2 separate regions of the Homo sapiens genome follow, and region 2 is linked to region 1. Evidence: promoter capture Hi-C in 16 types of primary human blood cells and fetal thymus (Javierre and others, 2016). All regions are on one chromosome and are shown on one strand. Each heading gives the region's core, a stretch centred on a gene start or on the middle of the fragment in contact. The rest is flanking DNA. Distances are from core to core; before and after follow the strand shown. Region 1 holds the start of HRH4 (histamine receptor H4). Region 2 overlaps OSBPL1A (oxysterol binding protein like 1A).

The links. Contacts are between HindIII fragments. The CHiCAGO score rates a contact against its expected background, and 5 or more counts as called.
Region 2: a fragment that was not itself captured here is called in contact with the fragment with the promoter of HRH4 in region 1 in 1 of 17 cell types (M2 macrophages); the score reaches 5.9 in M2 macrophages.

The regions. Positions count from the first base shown.
Region 1 is chr18:24,458,365-24,463,890 of GRCh38, forward strand. It overlaps HRH4 (histamine receptor H4), which reads left to right and starts at 2,273. Exons shown (of 3, transcript NM_021624.4): 1 at 2,273-2,557. The coding sequence starts at 2,365. The HindIII fragment of the contact is 429 bases long and covers 2,196-2,624 here.
Region 2 is chr18:24,363,086-24,368,611 of GRCh38, forward strand. OSBPL1A (oxysterol binding protein like 1A) reads right to left here. Exons shown (of 28, transcript NM_080597.4): 3 at 5,202-5,287; 4 at 3,807-3,881. The region is part of intron 2 of LOC124904268 (a long non-coding RNA gene); the gene reads left to right. Among named protein-coding and RNA genes, the nearest start is that of OSBPL1A, 32 kb to the right of the region's middle. The HindIII fragment of the contact is 6,429 bases long and covers 1-5,526 here.

The DNA.
Region 1 (5,526 bases), core at 1,023-3,522:
GTGTAGAGTCATTTTTGCATTTGGCATCATTTTCCTTCTGCTTGAAGAACTTCCTTTACCATTTCTTGTAGAGCAAGTTTGCTGGTGGTGAATTATTTCAGCTCTCATATATCTAAAAACCCTTTATTTTGTCTTTGTTTATGAAACTTTCTTTTTTTTTACTAAATATAGAATTCTAGGTTGAGTTTTTTTTCCTTTCAACATTTGAGAGATATTGCAGCCACTGTTTTTCTGCTTCTGTTGCTTCTGATGAGAAACATGCTGACACTCATACCTTTCTTATTTTGTATGTTATGTGTCCCCCCTCAACCCCTGCTGTTCTTAAGCTTTTCTTTTTCACACTGGTTTTGAGCAATTTTATTTGATATACCTTGTGTAGTTTTCTTTGTTTCTTGTGTTTGGGGTTCATTGAGCTTCTTGGTTTATATTTCTCATCACATTTTGAAACGTTTTAACCATTGATTCTTCAAATTTTTTTCTGTCCTTTCCTTTCTCCTTTCCTCCTGGGACTCCTATTAGACATATATTAAGTCACTTGAAGTTGTCTTCTACCTTAGTGATACACTGTTAATTAAAAAAAATCTCTTTTATCTCTGTGTTTCATTGTAGGTGGATTATATCATTACATGTTTAAGTTCACTAATCTTATCTTCTGCAATCTCTGCCATTAATCCTTTCCAATGTATGTTTAGTCCAGACCTTCTAGTTTTTATTTCTAGATGTTTGATTAAAAAATCTTCTATATCTTTACATATCTTTTTGAAAATATGGAATACAGCTATATTCCATTTTCGTTTTTCCATATTCCATCTGACTATTTTAATGTTCTTGTCTGTTAATTCTAATATCTGTGTGATTTCTGAGTTGACTTCAATTGATTGATGTTTTTCCCCTTATTATAGATCACATTTGCCTGCTTCTTGGCATGTCAGATAATTTTTAATTGGATTTAAGACATTGTAGTTTTACATTGTTGGGTACTGGATATTTTTATGTTATATAAATATTCTTGAGCTGTGTTCAGGGTTGCAATTAAGCTGCTTGGAAACAGTTTGATCCTTTCAGGTTTTGCTTTTAAGATTTGCTAGGAAGAACCCAAGAAATATTTAGTATAGGGCTAATTATTCCTGACTACTGAGGCAAGACCCTTCTGAATGTACTGCCCAACGTCCCATGAATTAGGAACTTTTTCCATTTGGCTAATGGGAGCAGGCACTATAACCAGCCCTCTGTGAGCATTGGGTACTATTGCCTCTAATATTTTCGAGTGGTTCTTTTTCTTGCCTAAAAACAGTTCCTCCACAAGTGCTAATCAGTACTCTGGTGAATACTTGAAGGGGGTCCTCTGCAGATCTCTGGAGTTCTGCTCAGTGTGGCTCTGCAGTTCAGAATCCTCTCTGGTACTCCTGTACTCTCAACTCCATTTCCTCATCCCAGGGAGTCTCCTGGGCTCTGCCTGGATTTCCCCTCTCTGCCCATGCCCTGGGAACTCTCAAGATAGTAAGGTGGGGCAACTGCAGACCTCATCCGTTCTCTCAGGGATCACCGTCCTTCCTTGTTAATGACAAGTGCCTTGAAAACCATTGTCTAGTTTTTTGGCTGTTTCAGATGGGATTGTGAAATTCAGCCCCTGTTACTCCATCATGGCCAGATGAGAATATTGAACTGAATCTACACGAGTTTTAAAAATGGCCTGGTGTGGTGGCTCATGCCTATAATCCCAGCATTTTGGGAGGCCGAGGTGGGTGGATCACTTTAGGTCATGAGCTCAAGACCAACCTGGTCAACATGGTGAAACCCCATCTCTACAAGAAATAACAAAAATTAGCTGGGCATGGTGATGAGTGCCTGGAATCCCAGCTACTTGGAAGGCTGAGGCAGGAGAATCGCCTGAACCTGGGAGACAGAGGTTGCAATGAGCCGAGCTCACATCAGTGGCCTCCAGCCTGGGCAACAGAGTAAGACTCCATCTCCAAACAACAACAACAACAACAACAACAACAACAACAACAACAACAATGAACCTTGTGTGAGCCCAATTTATTTCCTGTATAATGATTATATTTTATAGATATTACATGATTTTATTCTAATAATGGAGATGGATGCATCACAGTAAAATGTTTAAGGTAAAACATTTCACTGTTTTTTGGAAATACTTTCTCAGTGTCAGTTAAAGGGAAACTGTTACCACAAGCTTACTTTATCAAGAATCAGGAAGTACTATGAGATCAGCATTAGATTAAAACAGTGTTGTTTTGAGTGGAAGACTACACATTTTAGGTATGTGATTAGAAAACATACTTGTCAGAATTGTCTGGCTGGATTAATTTGCTAATTTGACCTTCTTCATCATTTGATGTGATGCCAGATACTAATAGCACAATCAATTTATCACTAAGCACTCGTGTTACTTTAGCATTTTTTATGTCCTTAGTAGCTTTTGCTATAATGCTAGGAAATGCTTTGGTCATTTTAGCTTTTGTGGTGGACAAAAACCTTAGACATCGAAGTAGTTATTTTTTTCTTAACTTGGCCATCTCTGACTTCTTTGTGGGTAAGTTATATGTCTTTATTTAAGACAGTCTTTTCCGATTTTAATTTATTTCTAAATCCTTAAAATAAGCTTTTGTTATTTCAGGGGACTGTATACAACTGGGGAAAAATAAACACAAAAAGTTTAAGTATTAAATTTTGGAGGGGGCTATATGGCACTGTAAGGGAATGTTATACATATGTAAATCAGTGTGGTAGGGGAATTTTCAGCTGAAAACAGTTTATTTTCTTTTTATAGAATAAAGATAAGTCCAGTATAGCTCCAAAATTTTAATGTAAGAGTTACTTGTTTCTGGTGCTATTTTCCTCATATGTTTAGGCTTATAAGTATTCCTCTTTAAGTAAATATGGTTTTGTTGGTATCACAATGTTGGAGTAATAAGAAATTATGTATATGCTAGTAACCAGTGCAATCAGAAAATAGCGTATTCAGATCAATTAAATAATATGATTAATAGTATTAATTTAATGATATGGCATAGAATTTTGTAAAATATACCCAACTGTAAACTGCCTTGCATATAATATGATATCATAGCATTATATCATCGTTAAGAGACCATAGAAATCAAACCAACTTTCTCTGAAAACACGCACTTTATAATTTTTCACTGCCTGATGCTTCTTATTTTTAAACAATGCTTATCATAATAAGTAGATGTACAGAAATGTCAGCTGATGATACTATTTTACAGGAGTTTCTAGTATAATTTAATCTGGCATATTCAGATTATTTTTGTCTATAACTACATAAAGCTTACATTTATGTTAAAGTGAAATAAACACACAAAATACTTAGTTCATTCCCTGGAATACAGTTGTTACTCAACAAATGTTAGTTCTCTTTTTTTTTTTTTTTTAATTTCTCTGCAGATATGGGTCAACCCCAATCTAGGTCACAAATGTTAGTATAGTATCTAGCCTGTATAATACTGCTAGGTATGCAAGCACTATTAGGTAATCAAGGGATCTATAGAAGATTAGGTTAGTCTCTTCCAGTAAGTTTTTGATGTAGAAGAGTGGACAAGAGATGTTCAGAAATGACTATAGCAGTATAGAGTAACACGAGACCCCACGAAGACCTAAGAAGTGCTATGGTCACTTGGAGGAGGGATAAAGCACGTTTAGTTAGCGAATAGAGGCATTTAACATGAACTTTGAAAGATGGATAGAATTTCCATAGTCAGAGATAGGGCGAAGGATTCTTTGCTCCAAGAATGAGCAAAGGCATGCTGGTAGAAAATCATTGTGCTTATCTTCCTAAGGGTGAGTGAGCTTGGAGCTGGCTGGTGTGCAGATAGGTGCAGGGGAGCCGTAGAGATGAAGATGAAATCTATAAAGTGAGGGCCTTTAAATACCAGCGTGAGTGTGGAGTGGAATTTATTCAGCAGGCCTTGTGGAGATTTAAAGATTTTAAAACAGGAGAGTGGTTGAACAGATCAAAGCTTTACTTTAGAGACATCGGAAGAGCCGTAGGAAATGGGGAAACTGGAGTGTGGGGCGGCATGCTTTCAGAGATGATCCTGCAGCAATCTAGGCAGAAATCATGCAGTTAGGACCTGAGCTAGGATGATTGGAAAGGAAGGCCAACAGGCAGAGCAGCTAAGGGTGTGGTTGGGCGGGAAAAGAGAAAGCTGAGTTAAAGATTGGGCTTCTGAGACTAAGAACGGTACGGTGCTCTTCAAAGAAACAGGAAGTATTTGGGCAGGACAGCTCTGGTTCTGATGTTGCACTGAAAGTTCTGGAGAAAAATTCTAGTTGGGGAGATTGATTTAGGAGTCATGGCATAGAAATGACACATAAAGGCAGCTAACCCATAAAGAAGTATTGAAAAAATGCACTGTCTCCACATTTGTTTCCTCAATTCTGTCCCTTCAGGTAACCAACATTTGCTGCTTGATGTAGATCCTTCCACATCATTCTCTGTGCTCCCATAAACATGTACAAATACACGAGTTTATTTATGTGAACATAGAGAAAGTTCCACTATAAATATATGTATCCTTTGCTTCTTCCTTCTTCACAGGATCTTGTGACTTTTAGATGACAGTCATCACTTAAAATAGATGATGTGCTTTTACTAACCCAAAGGGAGTGAGGCCCTGACTGCCCCAGTTTTAGGGTGGGAAGGGTGAGACAGCTGAGAGAGCCTGGGGCCTGAAGCTTTTGAATCAAGATGGTTCTAGGTAAAAATGTCTCCATGTCTGGCCCAAGACCAGCATCATGGCAGTCCCACCCTCAAGGGCTTGAGCTTGTCTTTGGAAAATGGCCCTGCAGATGTAGTTATTCAGCAGTCCTGGTGATCTCCTCCATCAGCAGGTGGGTGAAGATATAATTCTGATAATTTCTTTTGCTCCTGATTAAAGGAGTTGGGTGCAGGTCAGAGTCTCCTTTCATCTGCCTGCCAGCCTCATCCCTCACATCTCCCCTGCCTCCTGCCAGCTTCATCCAGAGGTCTGCATATTTAATGCAGGGCTCACCATGACACAGTCCCTGGGAGCTTTTTGTAACAGGATTCAAGTTTTCTGGCAGTGCTGTTCTTTCTCCTTTGCCATGCTGGGAAATGAACCTTTTGTCTCAGCCTGGAAGAAGGCGTGGACGTGGTGAGCATGCAGGGCAGAACTCGTGAGAGGTTTTCTGCAGCTGTTAGCCATTGATTCTTAACATTTGGGGTCATGAGATCCAGAGCTCCAGAGCCATGTGACCATGGCAGGGCAGATTAGACCCTCACATGTGCTTGGAACTGTGGCTTTGCTGGCTGAATGCCCTCTTCCCCCCAGGTTTCAGAACTGGCCCTCTGCGGAGAATCTAAATTTGTGGCACCCAAGTTGCTAATTTCTCAGGCTGAATTTACTGTTGAGAGCAAAGATTTATTGAGGAAAAATTCTAGTACTAGCTATACCGGACGTTATATAAATACACCTCATCTGTATACTATTTTGGGAAACATACTATCTATATCTACATCAA
Region 2 (5,526 bases), core at 1,475-3,974, 95 kb before region 1:
GAGAACACCTACATGCTTGCTAGCATGAGGCTGCTTTTTCTATTAGAGTGTCTAGCTTTCTACCGCTGCTATAACAAATGACCACAAACTCGGTGGCTTAAAACAACAGAAAGAAATGTGTTACCTCACAGTTCTGTATTTGAGAAGTCCAGAATAGGTCTTGTTGGGAAAAATCAAGGTGTTGCAAGGGCTCTAGGGGAGAATTCATTTCCTTGCTTTTCCCGTTGCTAGAGACTGTCCACCTTCCTTGGCTCACAGCCCCCTTTCCTGCAGTTTCTAAGGCAGAAACACCGTATCTCTCTGACGAATCTCTCATAAGCACATTTCCCTCTTATTACACTTCTTTCTTTTTCTTTTTTTCCTTTTTTTTTTTTTTTTTGAGATAGAATCTCGCTGTGTTGTCCAGGCTGGAATACAGTGGCACAATCTTGGCTCACTGCAACCTCTGCCTGCTGGGTTCAAGTGATTCTCCTGCCTCAGCCTCCCGAGTAGCTGGGATTACAGGAGTATGCCACCACATCCAGCTATTTCTTTTCTTTTCCCTTCCTTCCTTCCTTTCTATCTTTCTTTCTTTCTTATAGGGTCTCCCTGTGTCACCCAGGCTAGAGTGCAGTGGTGAAATCATGGCTCACTTCAGCCTCGACCTCCCCGGCTCAAGTGATCCTCCAACCTCAGCCTCCCGAGCAGTTGGGACTACAGATGCACACCACCACACCAGGCAATTTTTTTTTTTTAGAGATGGGATTCTCCCTATGTTGCCCAGGCTGGTCTCAAACTCCCGTGCTCAAGTGATCCTTCCACCTTGGCCTCCCAAAGTGCTGAGATTACAGGCGTGAGCCACTGTGTCCAGCCTCTCTTACACTTCTAAGGACACCTGTGATTACAATGGGCCCACCGAGATAATCCAAAATAATTTTCCTACCTTAAGGTTAGCTGATGAGCAATCTCAACTCCATCTGCAACTTTAACTTCCCCTTGCTGTGTAATCTAACATATTTACAAGTTTTGGGGGATTAGGATGTGGATGTCTTTGGAGGGCCATGATTCTGCCTACCACACAGGCAAATGGCAAAACAGCCTAAAACTTAATGAGACAACCCTGAAAACAAAAGAACTGGAGTAGGAGTAGGTGAGCTTCCCAGGTACCCCAGGCTGCTGGGAAACTCCACACATTTGCAGGAGAAAGGAGAGGGGGCCTTGCAAAAGTCAGAGCAGAGGAAGAAGCGAGAAATGCCTGGACTCTGAAAGCACTCTCCAGCCTACACATAGATCCAGGGCAGAGCACAGAAGCCTAAGGGGATTGAGTAATGGAGCCCACTGCTGCTCAAATACAGGCTCACCACTAGGCTACACAGATGCAGGCATGAATCCTAAAATACTATGCTGAAAGCCAGGCACAGTTGTGCATGCCTACAGTCCCAGCTACTCAAGAGGCTGAGGTAGGAAGATCACTTGAGCTCAGGAGTTCAAGTCCAGCCTAGGCAATATAGTGAGACTTGTCTCTAAAACAAACAAACAATTTTTTTTTAATTTTTTTTTTTTAACTCAGCAGATATATTAGCTGGCCAGACTCAGTCCAGATTCCACAGATTAAAGCCAGGCTGGTTAATACATTTAAGAAAAGGACTGCAAGATCTCTATGTTGAAAACTTCAGGCCAGGAATGGTGGCTCATGCCTGTAATCCCGACACTCTGAGAGACCGAGGTGGGTGGCCTAGGAGTTGGAGACCAGCCTGGGCAACATGGAGAAACCCCGTCTCTACTAAAAATACAAGAAATTAGCCAGGTATGGTGGCACACACCTGTAGTTCCAGCTTCTCAGGAGGCTGAGAGGGGAAGATCACCTGAGCCTGGGAGGCGGAGGCTGCAGTGAGCTGAGACTGTGCCACTGCCCTGCAGCCTGGGTGAAAGAGCGAGACCCTGTCTCAAAAAACAACAACAAAAAAAAAAAAAAAAAAAAAAATCCAGAAACATTTAAATTATGGTCAACTGATTTCCAGCAAAGGTATCTAGGCAATACAATGCAAAAAGATAGTCTTTTCAATAAAACTTGAACAGATAACAAAAGATGGTGTATCCATACAGTGGAATATTCAGCCATAAAAAAGACCAAACTACTGATACATGCTACAGCATGGATGAACCTCAACGACATTATGCTAAATTAAAGAAGCCAGACACAAAAGTTTGTATGATACTGTTTACAAGAAATGTTTAGGCCGAGTGCGGTGGCTCACGCTTGTAATCCTAGCATTTTGGGAGGCTGAGGTGGGTGGATCCTCTAAGGTCAGGAGTTCGAGACCAGCCTGGCCAACATGGTGAAACCCCATCTCTACTAAAAATCCAAAATTATCTGGGCATGGTGGCGGGTGCCTGTAATCCCAGCTACTTGGGAGGCTAAGGCAGGAGAATTGCTTGAACCCGGGAGACAGAAGTTGCAGTGAATCAATATCACACCACTGCACTCCAACCTGGGCGACAGAGCAAGACTCGGTCTCAAAAAAAAAAAAAAAGTTTAGGAAAGGCAAATATCTAATATCTAGAGAAAGGAAACAATTCAGTGGTACCCTGGGGCATGGGAAAGGGGAAGGGGATGAATATAAACAGGCATGAGGAAACTTCTGGGGTGACAGAAATGTTCTAAAACTGGATTTTGGTGATGTTGCACAATTTTGTAAATGTATAAAAATCACTAAAATGCACACTTACAATATGTGATCAAATTATGCTTTTCCTCTGCTCTCCTACTACAGCAAGTAACACTAAAGACTTCTGTGACCAAATATGGGTGGGGGCAGTTCTCCCCACCACCAAGCAAGCAATTAGTTCTGCAGCAAATACCAGCTATGTGTCCTTCAATTCAATTCCAACACTATCTACCCAGAGATAGCATTAATCCCACAGGTGAGGGCTCAGTCCCAGCACTTCTCCCCACCCCTCAGACACCAGCTGCAGGTCCAGACCTCCAGAGCTTCTGACTGATGGTCTTTAAATTAGGGTTCCCATGACTCCCTGTTTGGGTTCCATTAATTTGCTAGAGCAGCCCACAAAACTCAGGAAAACATGTTTACTGCTTTATTACAAAGGATACAGATGAAGAGATACATAGGGCAAGGCATGGAGGAAGGGCACAGAGCACCCATGCCCTCCCTGGGTGTGATCATTCAAGAACCTCCACGTGTTCAGCTACCCAGGAGCTCCTAGAACCCTGTCCTTTCAGGTTTTTATGGAGGTTCCATTAAATAGGCATGATTGATGAAACCACTGGCCATTAGCGAGCCATTTCCCCTTCAGCCCCTCTACCCTCCCTGGAGGTTGCAAAGTTCGGCTGAAAGTCCCAACCCCCTAGTCCTGCCTTGGTCTTTCTGGTGACCAGCCCCCATCCTGAAGCCACCTAGGGGTTGCCAGCCATCTTTTTGTACATCTTTAGTGTACAAGGTCAAAGACCAAATATATATTTCACAATATCACAGGTGAAGTTTATGCAATGTAAGTTATACCTCAATGAAGCTATTTTTTTTTTAAAAAAAAGAATAATCAGGAGTTCCCCATTGCTGGAGTACACAAGCAGAAACGGAATGATCTCCTCACAGGGATGCTACAGAGTGGGGGTCTCCATGACCTTAGTACTGGACCTCACTGTCAGACTCAAAGATCCTGTGGCCTTTTGACCCAAAGTGCTGGTGTATACATTTTTTTGTGTGGCTTTCTTCGGTTGCTGGTCAGATGGTTATAACAGAGAAAACAATGGTAACTACTCCTCCAAATACCTCACTTACAAACATTGAACATAGAATGATTTTCACCTTTCGTCCTGTAAAGGCAGCTCGATGAAGCGGCGTGTCTCCCATGTCATTCAACACATTCACTTCTGCACCAGCCTAGTAAACATGACCACTTTAAATACCAAGAAATATACAATGGTGAAAATCATTCCTTCAAAATATATTAAGGCCTTAAAAAATTAAAATTGTTAATATTGTTTAGGTGTCAGTACTAACAATAAATTAAATTTAAAGTAACAATAAAAAGCCAGCACGGTGGTTTGAGCCCATAGTCCCAGCTACTTGGGAGGCTGAGGCAGGAGAATCATCTGAGCCCAGGAGTTCAAGGCCAGTCTGGCACTATAGCGAGACTCCATCTTATATATATATATATATATGTACACATATAGTAGTGTATATATGGTAGGTTTTCTGAAAGGTAAAAATCTACCTGATAGGTAGAAAAATAAAAAGTAAAAAGGTACTTTTCACTAAAAATCTATACACCTTGGCCAGGCGCAGTGGCTCACACCTGTAATCCTAGCACTTTGGGAGGCTGACGTGGGCGGATTGCTTGTGCTCAGGAGTTTGAGACCAGCCTGGGCAACATGGTGAAAGTCCGTCTCTACAAAAAATAGAAAAACATTAGCCAGGTGTGGAGGCACGTGCCTATAGCTCCAGTATTTGGGGGACTGAGGCAGGAGGATCACTTGAACCTGGGAGGTCAAGGCTGCAGTGAGCCGAGATTACGCCACTGCACTCCAGCCTGGGTGACAAAGTGAGGCCTTGTCTTGATTAAAAAAAAAAAAAAAAAAATCCATACACCTTCACTCTACTTTAGAAGCAGTCATATTGAAAAAAGGAGAATGATCTCTGAATGAAATACCACATTTCCTCCTTTATCAATTTAATAAGTTTTGAGGAAAAAAGATGCCATTATTTAAATGTACAGATGAATTGTAAGATGCAAGCAAATTTCAGAACTATCAGAATGTGAGAAGTTATTCATCATAGAATTAAGAAATATGAGCTCTCAATTCTCTTTAAATACAGTGCTAAGAGATTGTGACATTGTTTTTTCTTTTTAATTTTTATTTGTGTATTGACATTATTTTTTAATTATTTAGGGTGTGCTTTGGTTATTTTTTCAACTGTCACACTCAGAACTGAAAATAAAATCTTCATTAATATGCCTACTTTTATTATTTTTAAAAGCTAGTAATAAAAAAATCTAATGATTAAACATACAATTTTAATTAATCAGGCTAACCTAATTCATGTATTTATTTAATAAAGAACAATTAAGTGTCTTGAATGATGAACTATTGCTTTAAATAAGTCATTATGGCTCAGGTGGCTTTTCTAAGACTTTCATCTTAAAATTTCCATAACAATAATATTTACTGTAGTCATTAAAAATTAAAGTCATAAATAGACCTTCAACAGATCCTGGACCACTTGTCTGTGTCCAAAATAGCATGCCAGATGTAGAGGTGTCCAGCCCAAGTTAGACTTACTTCTTCCTAAAAATGGAAAAATATAAGGTATTTTTAGGTCATATTTAGGTAATTTTACAACGAAATTAACTTCTCCATAACAAGCTACCTCAATAATCTCCTTTGCAATGCATTGCTGATAAGTGAGAGGCAAGATATGTGACCAAGAAGTGTAATGGGTGTAAAGGACGAGAACTCACAAGGTGCAGATCTGGTGCCACCTTCTGACTCGATGTCTTCACCTCTAAAGGGATAGAGGGAGACAG